3 separate regions of the Homo sapiens genome follow, and regions 1 and 2 are each linked to region 3. The links are contacts of gene promoters, found by promoter capture Hi-C in blood cells and fetal thymus (Javierre and others, 2016). All regions are on one chromosome and are shown on one strand. Each heading gives the region's core, a stretch centred on a gene start or on the middle of the fragment in contact. The rest is flanking DNA. Distances are from core to core; before and after follow the strand shown. Region 1 has its middle 32 kb from the start of OR10G7. Region 2 has its middle 14 kb from the start of OR10G7. Region 3 holds the start of OR8B3 (olfactory receptor family 8 subfamily B member 3).

Region 1 (3,771 bases), core at 114-2,613, 330 kb after region 3:
TGTCAGGACACTCCGGCTGCAGAAAGAAGCTCCCCACTGCAGGTCCCCTCTGAGCTGTTCTATAGCTCAATAAAGCTCTTCTTCCTCTTACTCACCCTCCACTTGTCTGCATAACTCACTTTTCCTAGTCACAGGACAAGAACTCGTGACCCAACGAATGGCAAAGCTAAAAGAGCTGTAACACAAACAGGGCTGAGACATGCCCCTTGCTTGCTCCCTACATTGCAGGTGAAGAGAAGGAAAGAAGAGCTGTGGCCCTTTGGGGATCCCAGACCTGGGAGCTCCCCCACAGGGCTGTGACTCCCTCTTTGGGGCCCTGCAATCTCCAAGCTTCCAGGCACCACCATGGTCCCCAGTGCCAGCTGTGGAAGCTGCTTGCAGTGCACCTGGTCTGGCCACAGCCTTGCAAAGAACCAGCACCCATGCCGGCACTTGGAGCTGCCCACCCCACTGCAGCAACCAGCCTGTCTGACTGTGTGCAGTGGCCAGACCTCACACTTGCTCACATACCCTTCACCGCTCCCACCTTACTCGCCCTTGGGAGACATGGGATCAAGGCCAGTAGCGTCAGCCAAGCACAGCCTGCAAGGCCAAGTAGGCAGAATGAGCCCAGTGGGCCCCACCAAATCTCAAGCAAAGGCGCCACTGGTCACAGATGTTTCCGGTCAGAAAAGTGACACCCCAAAGATCCCCTAACAGTAGACCTTCCCCACAATTGTTTTGCTTTGTTTCTTATATATAAACAAGCATTGTACCTAAGGTGGACGTAATTCTTCCTTTTGCTTTTGGGAATGTCCTGCTCTGCCTATGGAGTGGCCATTCTTTCATTCCTTTACTTTCCTAATAAACTTGCTTTTGCTTTACTCTGTGTATTTGTCCTGAATTGTTTTTTGCACAAGATTCAAGAACCCTCTCTTGGGGTCTGGATTGTGACCCTTTTCTGATAAAACAATTTAATGTTTTATATTGAAATGTGCTAATGTTGAATTTGTAAAGATACTATCAATAAAGAAAAATACAAACAATAATTGTTTTTAATCTACTGAAATCTATCGAGCAATAACCACTCAACAATTTGGTGATCATCTTTCCACCAAAGACACACGCATATGCTACACACACAAATTTACACAAGTAAATAACATTATAGCTATGATACTATACTCTAATTTTCCTATTCCCTAAAGCTTTTTCTCACATCAGTAACAGATAGCTGCCTCAACTTGAATGACTATAAAAATTCATTTTATGAATAAGTCAAATTATTCTTAACCCATTAATAGAAATATTTTTCTTTAAGAGTTTACATTAATGAACAATCACTTTAAACTATCATCTCAACTAAGACACTTATTTCATATGTATGGTTCATTCATATGTGTATAATCTTGGTTATTTCCCTGCTTTATAAACGCAAAGGAACATAGTTATATTCTTATGTCTTTTCCCAGATTATTTTTACATCACTGTGAAAGGAAAACCTTTTTATATTACTTGTTAAAAATTTTTCTGATGGTCATAAGTTTGGGATTAAGCTTTCAATTTTGGGGCTTTCCTGCCCTCCATCAGGCTCATTAGATCAGATGTATTTCACTGCCATCATTTTCTTTTTTTCTTTTCTTTTTCTTTGGAGATGGAGACTCACTCTGTCACCAGGCTGGAGTCCAGTGGTGCGATCTCGGCTCACTGCAACCTCTGGTTCCCGGTTCAAGCTCCCGGTTCTCCTGTTCAGTCTCCTGAGTAGCTGCGGCTAGTGTTCTAATCTTTGCAAAGGTAGTTCCAAGAAGAGGAAAATAGTTCTGTCTAAAAGAATTCTTTGGAGTATTTATAGTTTCAGAAAAATAGAAATTTATGTGTAAAAACTGAAACTAAGGTAACATATTATTAACTAAAACAACCAGATAGCAAAACATATTTTAGAGATGAAGCATTACATTTTAGAGGACGTAGAACAATTTTTCCAATCAAGGTGAGTGTCCTAAAAGTTTGCATTATTAAGGAAAGTTCAAGGGGACGATTTTATAAAAATTATAAAGAAAAGAAGTGCAACACCGTACATTTTCTCAAGGCCCATAGTTTTGTGAATGTTTTCCTACATCATTTTATCAAAAAGGTTCTGACAATTCCAAATGCTATTTACTGCTATGGTGTTACGGGAAGGGGAAATCTTTTCTCTTTCATTTTTCTGAGATTCCTAATTGGTAGCAATTGTTAATAAAAAAGGCAAAAAATCTTAAGACTAAGATCTGGAGATAAGCAAGTTTTCACAGAAAGAAACTTAAAACTTTGAAAATAGTGAAAAGCGCAGGAGGAATTTTAACAAATGCAAAATGAGGAATATAATAGGATGTTTTTACTTGCAACCAGGAATTAAAATGGAGGAGAAAGTAAGTTGTTTCTTACCTCTATCAGTTTCAAGTTTACTTAGCGTTTTTGATTTGGAGAAGAAAGGAAAAGATATACGTCAGAGATCTTTTAGGTAAAGCAAAATGAAACAAAAATATGTATGAGTTATGGGAAAATAGAAGAAAGAAAAAGGAGGCCGCAAGCAGTGGCTCACGCCTGTAATCCCAGCATTTTGGGAGGCCGAGGCGGGCAGATCATGAGGTCAGGAGATCAAGATCAGCCTGGCCAACACGGTGAAACCCTGTCCCTAGTAAAAATACAAAAAAATTTAGCCAAGCGTGGTGGCGCACGCCTGTGATCCTAGCTACTCGGGAGGCTGAGGTAGGAGAATTGCTTGAACCTGGGAGGTGGAGGTTGTAGTTAACAGAGATCGTTCCACTGCACTCTAGCCTGGGTGACAAGAGAGAGACTCCGTCTCAAAATAAATAAATAAATAAATAAATAAATAAATAAATAAATAAATAAAACAAGAAAGAAAGAAAAAGGAAAAGATGTGGAAAAGGTAGAAATAAGTCAGTGTATTCCTGCGGGACTACATAAGACAAAAGGACAAGCACTTCTCTCTTTCCTTCTCCATCACAAACAAACCTTTCCGTCAGATTTAGTGTAAGTTTTATCAAACTGTATGTCACAGAATAGTCAGAATATCCTGTAGCTGGGAAATTCCTTTTATTCTGTTTTCTTTTGTTGAAAGCAAAACTCGTATCACGTTATTAATGCACAATTTCCTGGGTTAAAATTAACTTTGGGGACTCCCTGCCAAAGGAATTCAAGCCCCGCTCTATGGAAGGAAAAAAAAAGAAGTCAAATTCCCTTCTCTGCTAGCTCAGAAGAGGAATGATGAAGGTACGTGCTGAAGCCGATCTGTCGGCCACGTGCTTTTAGCACCAAGTGGTTCTTGTGCAGTCTGTAAACACAGGCAGGGTCCTGTGACCTTTGCCAGCTGTATTTCCATCAAGACTTTCTCCATTCTTACCTGAAACACCTTGTGAACCCAATGGCTGTTTACACACAAAGAGTCGTGGGTCTACTGACACCAATTGGTAAAAATGGTAGCAATTGACTGGTTATTTAACTGGCTCTCTAGAAAGACTATAGCACATGGTGGTGCCATCAGAAATCATAAGCATCACAGACCTCTCTAACACAGTTCTAATAATAATTTCAACCATTCTTTATCCTATTGATTCAGCTCCAGGGTCTTTATTGCAAGCTACTTGTTAGTGAAGAGGAATCTGGTTGTCGGTGCCCCAATAGTGCCATCTGCCGGCCGATGTTAGGTATTTCACCTTAATTCGGAGTCCTGTTTCAAGAGCGGGATTTCAAAATCAAGAGTACTACTGGAAATGGAAATATCATTGCCCT
Region 2 (3,596 bases), core at 1,079-3,578, 340 kb after region 3:
TAAAACAAGAAAATATATATATGAGCTAATCACAACTATAAATCTCTCTAAAATATATACATATATAGATACATAATATAAATATAGATATAGATATAGATGACATAGATAGAAATGAAAAAAATTTAAACAAGAAGTCAGAAACCCTAATTCCAATTTAATCACTAATGAGAGAGGTAGGAAAAATGACAAAATATTAACAGTGGTTATCTCTTGGTGGTAGGATCAGTGAGTAATTTCTACTCATTTTACTTTTTTGCAGTGTCCTAGTTTTCTTTGAAGCTATTTACATGAGAAAACAATGACTATTATTTTTGAAGGCCCATAAGTTCTGGAATTCAAATTTAGTCCCTGACTGAATGAAAGCAAACTTGTAATCCTCTTACAGAATTGAAATTGTTGTTATAAAGAAATAATATGTTTACCTGAGAGACAGCCTATACTAATACATCTTTTTGGATATATGGGTACTAATTGACTTCTAAAGAGATTTTATTTTCTTTCTTTTTTTTTTATTTTTAAGACAGTGTCTCTCGTTCCATCGCCCAGGCTGGAGTGCAGTGCTGTGATCTTGGCTCACTGCAGCCTCCACCTCCCAGGTTCAGGCGATTCTCCTGCCTCAGCCTCCTGAGTAGCTGGGACTACAGGTGCCCACCACCACGCCTGGCTAATTTTGTATTATTAGTAGAGACGGGGTTTCACCATGTTGACCAGGCTGGTCTTGAACTCCTGAGCTCAAGTGATCTGCCTGCCTCAGCCTCCCAAAGTGCTGGGATTACAGGCGTAGGCCACCATACCCAGCCAGATAATTTCTTGGTATCAGACTCAGACATATGTCATCCATCAAAATATAGACTCAAAAAAAGTTATAGAAATCAATGGAGCAAATTTAATGTACTAGATTTGCTGGCAAATTGAAGAATATTCTGTGTAAACCGAAAAGAAGCTCCTGAGAGAAGTATTTATGTTACCATTTAGACACTACAGAAGCAGCATTAGCACATGGTTAAGACGCTTTGGGTCACATTTTCGCCCAGCAAGTTTTTAACTCCATGACACTGCAGAAAGATCTCAGCCTCTCAGTGCCTTAATTTTCCCTCGTAAATCGAGATAATAGTATTATCTACTTCATATGATTATTATAATCATTACATGTATCAGTATTTGTAAATAGCGCCTGGTACTCAGTCATCAAACAAAATATAGGAGCTAATTGCCCCCAGATAAATTCAAGACAAAGCTGTAAAGACAGACCAGGATATAAAGCTTACCTTCCACAATTATGTACTCCTTGAATGAGCACCTTTCTCAGTGCCAGCTTTACACCTTTGTTTCTCAAAGTATATATCAAAGGATTCAGGGAAGGGATAACAATATTATTCAACACCTGAACCACAGAGTCCAGCCAAGGGCTGGAGGCAGGTCGGAGATAAATGAGGACTATTGGTCCATAGAAGAGCAGGATGGACGTCAGATGGGCACTGCAGGTTGAGAAGGCTCTGCGCCTACCTTCTGAGGAACTGATTTTCAGTATAGAGATAACAATGCAAGCATAAGAGGTGAGGATAAGAAGAAAACACATGAGCGCAACAACACCTACGTTGATGAAACTCACTGTCCGTGCTAGAGAGGTGTCTGCGCAGGCCAGGGGCAGCACCACCGGAATATCACAGAAAAAAATTGTCCACTTCATTGGGGCCACAGTAGGATAACTTAAAGATGAGGAGTGTGAGGACAGATGCATGCAGACAGCTCCCCGTCCAGGTGCCTAGCGTCAGGAGGGCACACACCCTGCGTTTCATGATGACCGTGTATGGCAAAGGGTGGCAGATGGCTGCAAATCGGTCATAGGCCATCACAGTGTACAGGAAACACTCGGTGCAACCCAGGAAATGGTGAAAGAAGAGCTGGGAGGCACAACCCTGGAAAGAGATGGTGCAGCTTTGTCCCACTAAGCAGAGCATCATTTTGGGGGAACTCACTGAAGGGAAAAATATGTCAAACACAGACAGGTTTCCCAGGAAGAAATACATGGGGGTGTGGAGGTTGGAGAAAGTGAGGACGGCCAGAAGAATGAGTAGGTTCCCCAGCAAGGTGAAGAGGTAGAAGGCCAGAAATAAGACAAAAAGCACATTTTCCATCCCCTTTGTATGAGGGATTCCCATCAGGGGGACCTCAGTTACTGGAGTGTGATTCTTTATCTTCATGTCAAATTAGTCCTGGAACATCAAACAATGGCCTCACTGAGATGAGTTTTTCCTGCAAAAAACTCTTTATAGAGCCTATCGCAAACTGATAATAAGTATATAGAGTGGAGAACTTCTAAATAAGACTCAGTTCAATCCTGTCATTAATTATTGAGTGACATTTGGGTAAGTTATTAATCTATTTTTCATCTGTTTCCTCATAAGTAAAATGAAGAGACAACACTAGAGTTGATATAGAAGAGAAGGTGTAGAATAAACTTTACAACTGGAAGTATCTGAGTTTACATACTAAACACGCTGCCCACTCTGACATCAGATGACCTTGAAAAAAACTCTTTAAATCTTTTCTGAATATATATAAATAGTAAAATAATATATTATGGTTCCTGTGTACATTAATGCATTGATGTCTGCAAAGTACCCATATAATTTTGGCTCCTACCCATCTTTGTTAAAAAATTTATTCATCAAATTATTTAATGTGTGCCTTATTCCACAGCATTTCTCTAAGTTGACTTGTAGCAGTTCTGAGATTACCCATTCATGTGACTGATCCGGGAGGCAGCTTTCTCAATCAGCAGCTAGAGTAACTGAAAACTGAGAATTGTCTAATGGGTGTAAAACAGAAAGGAAGCCTGGGCATGGCGGCTCACACCTGTAATCCCAGCAGCTTGGGAGGCCAAGGTGGCAGGATCACTTGAGCCCAGGGATTTGAGACTAGCCTAGGCAATACAGTGACGCCTTGTCTCTTCAAAAATTTAAAAAAAAAGGAAAAGAAAAAGAAAAAACTAGCTGAGTGTGGTGGTGTATGTCTGTAGTCCCAGCTACTTGGGAGGCTGAGGTGGGGAGATCCTTTAAGCTGAAAAGGCAGAGATTGCAGTGAGCCAAAATCATGCCACTGCACTCCAGCCTGGGTGACAGAGTGAGACCCTGTCCCAAAAATAACTTAAATAAAAATAAAGAAATAAAAGAATAGAAAAGATGATATGTAGGTAGGAAAAAGCAATAGATAATTACTGATATTAAAAACAGCCATTTCTTTTAATAGAGTTTAGTGTCCAATAGCAATTATATCTGTGACTTGACTGCAAATAATCATCATTTTTCCTAGAATTAGCTTTATAATTCCCCATTATCACTTTACATCTTATTCATTTCCTAAAATTTCTAAGGTTAAGCTTCATTAATCAGGTAATAGCTCAATAAAATACCATGGAGTCAACTAAGTCAGATTTAGCCCAAAGTCAAACAGAGCCAATTCCCACGTTCTTCCCACCTTCCTCTAGTGCGTAGAACTCATCAGAAGATGAGAGGGGAGCACTCCAGAGAAAAGGCACTCACAGACTGAAGGGAAATGTGGCTGTCCTGGGCTGAAAACCAGGCCCTACG
Region 3 (4,004 bases), core at 1,137-3,636:
CCTCCCAAATGCATCTTGAAATTTAATTGCCATTGTAGCAGTATTAAGAGACGAGACCTGTAAGAGGTGATTGTGATTAGGCCATGAGGGTTCTCCCCTCGTGAATTAATGCCTTTATAGCAAGAGTGGGTTTCTTACAAAAGGATGAGTTCAGCTCCAGTCTCTCTCTCTCTCTCTCTCTCTCTCTGTCTCTTTGCATTTCCCCTATGTGATAATACAGCAAGAAGGCTCTTGCAAGATGCTGACACCTCAATCTTGGATTTCCCAACCTCTAGAATCATTAGCCAAGAAAATTCTGTATAAATTACCCAGTCTTAGGTATTCTCTTATAGCAGGTCAATGTGAACTAAAACAGTGACTGTAAAAGAAACTAGAGATACACTCATTAAAAATTCTGGAAAAAGCATTGCAAATAGCTATTTCTAGCACAAAGCCTGATGTAAAGAATTTATGTTCCAAAAGAAAGTACAAATTTTCATTAATAACTATGAATATATATATTTTTGGAATATTATCTTATAAAATTATAGAAATTTTAAAATTACGCTGGGTGTGATGGCTCACATCTGTAATCCCAGGTGTGAGAGATTACACCTTGGGAGATTACACCTTGGGAGGCCAAGGTGGGAGGATTGTTTGAGCCCAGGAGTTCGAGACCAGCCTGTAAAACAGTGAGACCCTGTCTCTACAAAAATAAAAAAAGATTAGCTGGGTGTGATAGCAGGCGCCTGTACTCTCAGCTACTCAGGAGGCAGAGGTGAGAGGATTGCTCGAGTCCAGGAGGCCAAGGCTTCCGTGAGCCAAGATCGTGCCACTGTACTCCAGCCAGGGTGACAGAGTGAGACCTGGTCTCAAATATTTTTAAATAAATAAGTATAATAAAAAGAAAAAAAACAAAATGGTTGTTACCAGAGGCTGGGGGTGAGGGGAATGAGATGTTGGTCAAAGGGTGCAAAGTTTTAATTAGAAAGGAGGTATATGTTTTTGGAATCTATTGCACTGACTGGAGAGTATAGTTAATAATAATGCAATATATATTTCAAAATTGCTAAGAGAGTAGATTTTAAGTGTTTACACTACAGAAAATCAGTATGTGAGTTGATAGGTGTGTTAATGATCTTAATTTAATAATTTCATGATGTATACATTTATCAAAACACCACATTGTATCCCATAAATACATATAATAATTACTAATAAAAAATAAGAAAACAAAAGTTTATACATCTCTTTTAAGATGGATATTTTTGGCTGGGTATGGTGACTCACTCCTGTAGTCCCACCACTTTGGGAGGCCAAGGCAGGTGGATTACTTGATCCCAGGAGTTCAAGACCAGCCTGGGCAATATGATGAAATCCTGTCTCTATAAAAAATACAAAAATTATCCAATGGTGGTGGCATGTGCCTGTAGTCCCAGCTACTTGGGAGGCTGAGGTGGGAAGATCTATTGAACCTGGGAGGTTGAGGCTGCAGTAAGCTGTGATTGCAGCAAAGCAGGACACAGTCTCAAAAAAAAAAAAAAAGAGAATTCTGTATCCTGACTTAGGTGGTGGTTACATAAATATGTACATGGGATAGAATTGCATAGATTTGCACACACATACATACGAGCATGTTAAACTAGTGAATAAGGTCTGTAGTTTCGTTAACATTATTGAACCTATGTCAATTTCCTGGTTTTGCTATTGTCCTATAGTCGTGGAAGACATCGCCATGTGAGGAAACTGGGTGAAGAGTTCAAGGGAATCTACGTATGACTTTTGCCACTTCTTGTGATTCTAGTAATTTTAAAATAAAAAGGTAAAAAAATAGATGCCTTCTCACAAGCACAAATTCCTACCTACAGAGAAATTCTAAAGTCACACTGTCTTGAAATAACGGCCCATGAATAGTGATTTTTCTTACGGATTTGATTTTAACATGAAAGACAAAGACATGTTGAGTTAGAGCAACCCAAGGTAAATACATTTTTATGAAATAAAGGATAATTCTATGTTACACAAAATTTTTATTAAAAAATCTGAAATCAATTAAAAGTATCCCTTTTCTTTATGCCTATGAAGTATGCAAAAGTAAAAATGGATTATTTGAAAGATTATTTAAAAGGACTCACAATATTAAAAATGAGCATATAAACTTCACTAAATTATACTTACATTCCTGTTAAAGCTAATATACTACCTAGGATTATAATTAGCAAAAATTCTGACAATCATTACATTTACATCTTTATACATGAGAGCAGATGCTCTTTCTCCTATGCCCTGTGGATTGTATAATCCCTGATGAGAAATTTACCTCTACTACAACAAATTAGGCTGTAAACAAGGGCATACAATTTCTTCCCTGCAGAGTTTGTCATGGTAGGGGAGGTCCTGAGAGAGACTTACTGGGGGATATGTAATCAGGTCCAAAAGAATTGTAAGCCTTGAGCAAATGCCATGTGCTCTATGACATGGTAGCTCTGGTTTGAAGTGCAGTTTTCCAACAAACCCTCTTGGCAAATTTATAAATAATAGTTTGATCTACACCACAAAATGATTCCCAGAACATTCAGATTCTGAGATCTCTGCTCAATGCTTTTGCCAGTCAAGGGAGAAGAAGATTCTGTGACTACATCTGATCAACATAGATACCTTCACAGCCATTTCTTCCTCCAGGGCAGTGGAGGTGAAACACATATCAATGGTCAGCACTGAGTTCTCTGAGTGGAAGGAAGGTGAGTTAATCAAGTTTCTATTTCTCTCTCCTGGATGTTGCTGAAAAATGGGGAAAAGTATTCTATTCAATAGCAAGAAACTTAGTGGTATGGAGCTCTGACTCTTGGGCTTGCATTTTTCTCACACTGTTCTCTCTGTTGGCTTCATTCTTAGCCTGGTATCAAGATAGCAATAGCAGTTCCAAGTGACACATCCAGAACAGAGGAATGCCAGGAAAGGATATTTGTCTCTTTATTAAAAAATATATTGACATGTGCTATACATATAGAAGAGTTTAAGGGTCATAAAAATACCAGTTTGGTAAAATTTTACAAACTTAACAACTAATATAACTGTACCCAAATTAATTATGTTTCTCTTATGCCTTCCTACAAAGACCTGTGAAAGCACATTCAGCTTCCTTTCTTCATCCTGTCTAGCTAGGATGGAATAGAGGAGAATGTGTAGAAACACTTATGTGATTTGTATGTGGTGAATCATAAGGCTTTGACTACTAAGGGTCTTCTGTTATCACCTGGTGACTTCATGGATTCTTATAGTAAGGTATCTAGAAACCCTATAGGAGACCCCTGTCTAGGAAACAGAATATCGGTATGGTCTCTGCCCTAAAGGAATCCTCCCTTACCTGGTGGTCATCACAAGGAAACTGAAGTGTCTAGTAGAATAATGGAAACATAAGTAGAAACTAGGAAGTGGCCAGGCTCGGTGGTTCACACCTGTAATTCCAGCACTTTGGGAGGCTGAGGCAGGTGGATCATCTGAGGTCAGGAGTTTGAGACCAGCCAGACCAATATCATGAAACACTGTCTCTACTAAAAATACAAAAATTAGCTGGGATCGTGGCATGTGCCTGTAATCCTAGCTACCTGGGAGGCTGGACAGGAGAATCTCTTGAACCCGGGAGGCAGAGGTTGCAGTGAGCCGAGATCCCACCATTGCACTCCAGCCAGGGCAACAAGCGTGAAACTCCATCTTAAAAAAAAAAAAAAGAAACTAGGAAGTGAAGGGCCAGATGGAAGCGAGGGAGATGAGACACATCCACATAACCCAAGCTCAACAGCAGGTAGGCCTGTGCCTCAGCTACTCCACCTCTCTGTCTTCTAGTAAGGACAGGAGCAATTGTTTGTCACATTCAGTCTGTACAGACAAAAGACACTGACTGAAATGTTGAGGAGTGGGAGTGGCAGTACATTCAGAACATTCAGATCCCATGAAACAAAGAAGTCACCCAAATTCCTACAGCCTGAGTCCCCTCCTCATTAATGAGATTTTGTAAAAAGAAA

The links. Contacts are between HindIII fragments. The CHiCAGO score rates a contact against its expected background, and 5 or more counts as called.
Region 1: a fragment that was not itself captured here is called in contact with the fragment with the promoter of OR8B3 in region 3 in 3 of 17 cell types (total B cells, M1 macrophages and M0 macrophages); the score reaches 8.6 in total B cells.
Region 2: a fragment that was not itself captured here is called in contact with the fragment with the promoter of OR8B3 in region 3 in 2 of 17 cell types (megakaryocytes and erythroblasts); the score reaches 5.5 in megakaryocytes.

What each region holds. Positions count from the first base shown.
Region 1 is chr11:124,071,434-124,075,204 of GRCh38, reverse strand. No RefSeq gene overlaps it. Among named protein-coding and RNA genes, the nearest start is that of OR10G7, 32 kb to the right of the region's middle. The HindIII fragment of the contact is 348 bases long and covers 1,190-1,537 here.
Region 2 is chr11:124,053,404-124,056,999 of GRCh38, reverse strand. It overlaps the pseudogene OR10D5P. Among named protein-coding and RNA genes, the nearest start is that of OR10G7, 14 kb to the right of the region's middle. The HindIII fragment of the contact is 2,119 bases long and covers 1,269-3,387 here.
Region 3 is chr11:124,397,406-124,401,409 of GRCh38, reverse strand. It overlaps OR8B3 (olfactory receptor family 8 subfamily B member 3), which reads left to right and starts at 2,386. Exons shown (of 2, transcript NM_001005467.2): 1 at 2,386-2,720. The HindIII fragment of the contact is 12,656 bases long and covers 1-4,004 here.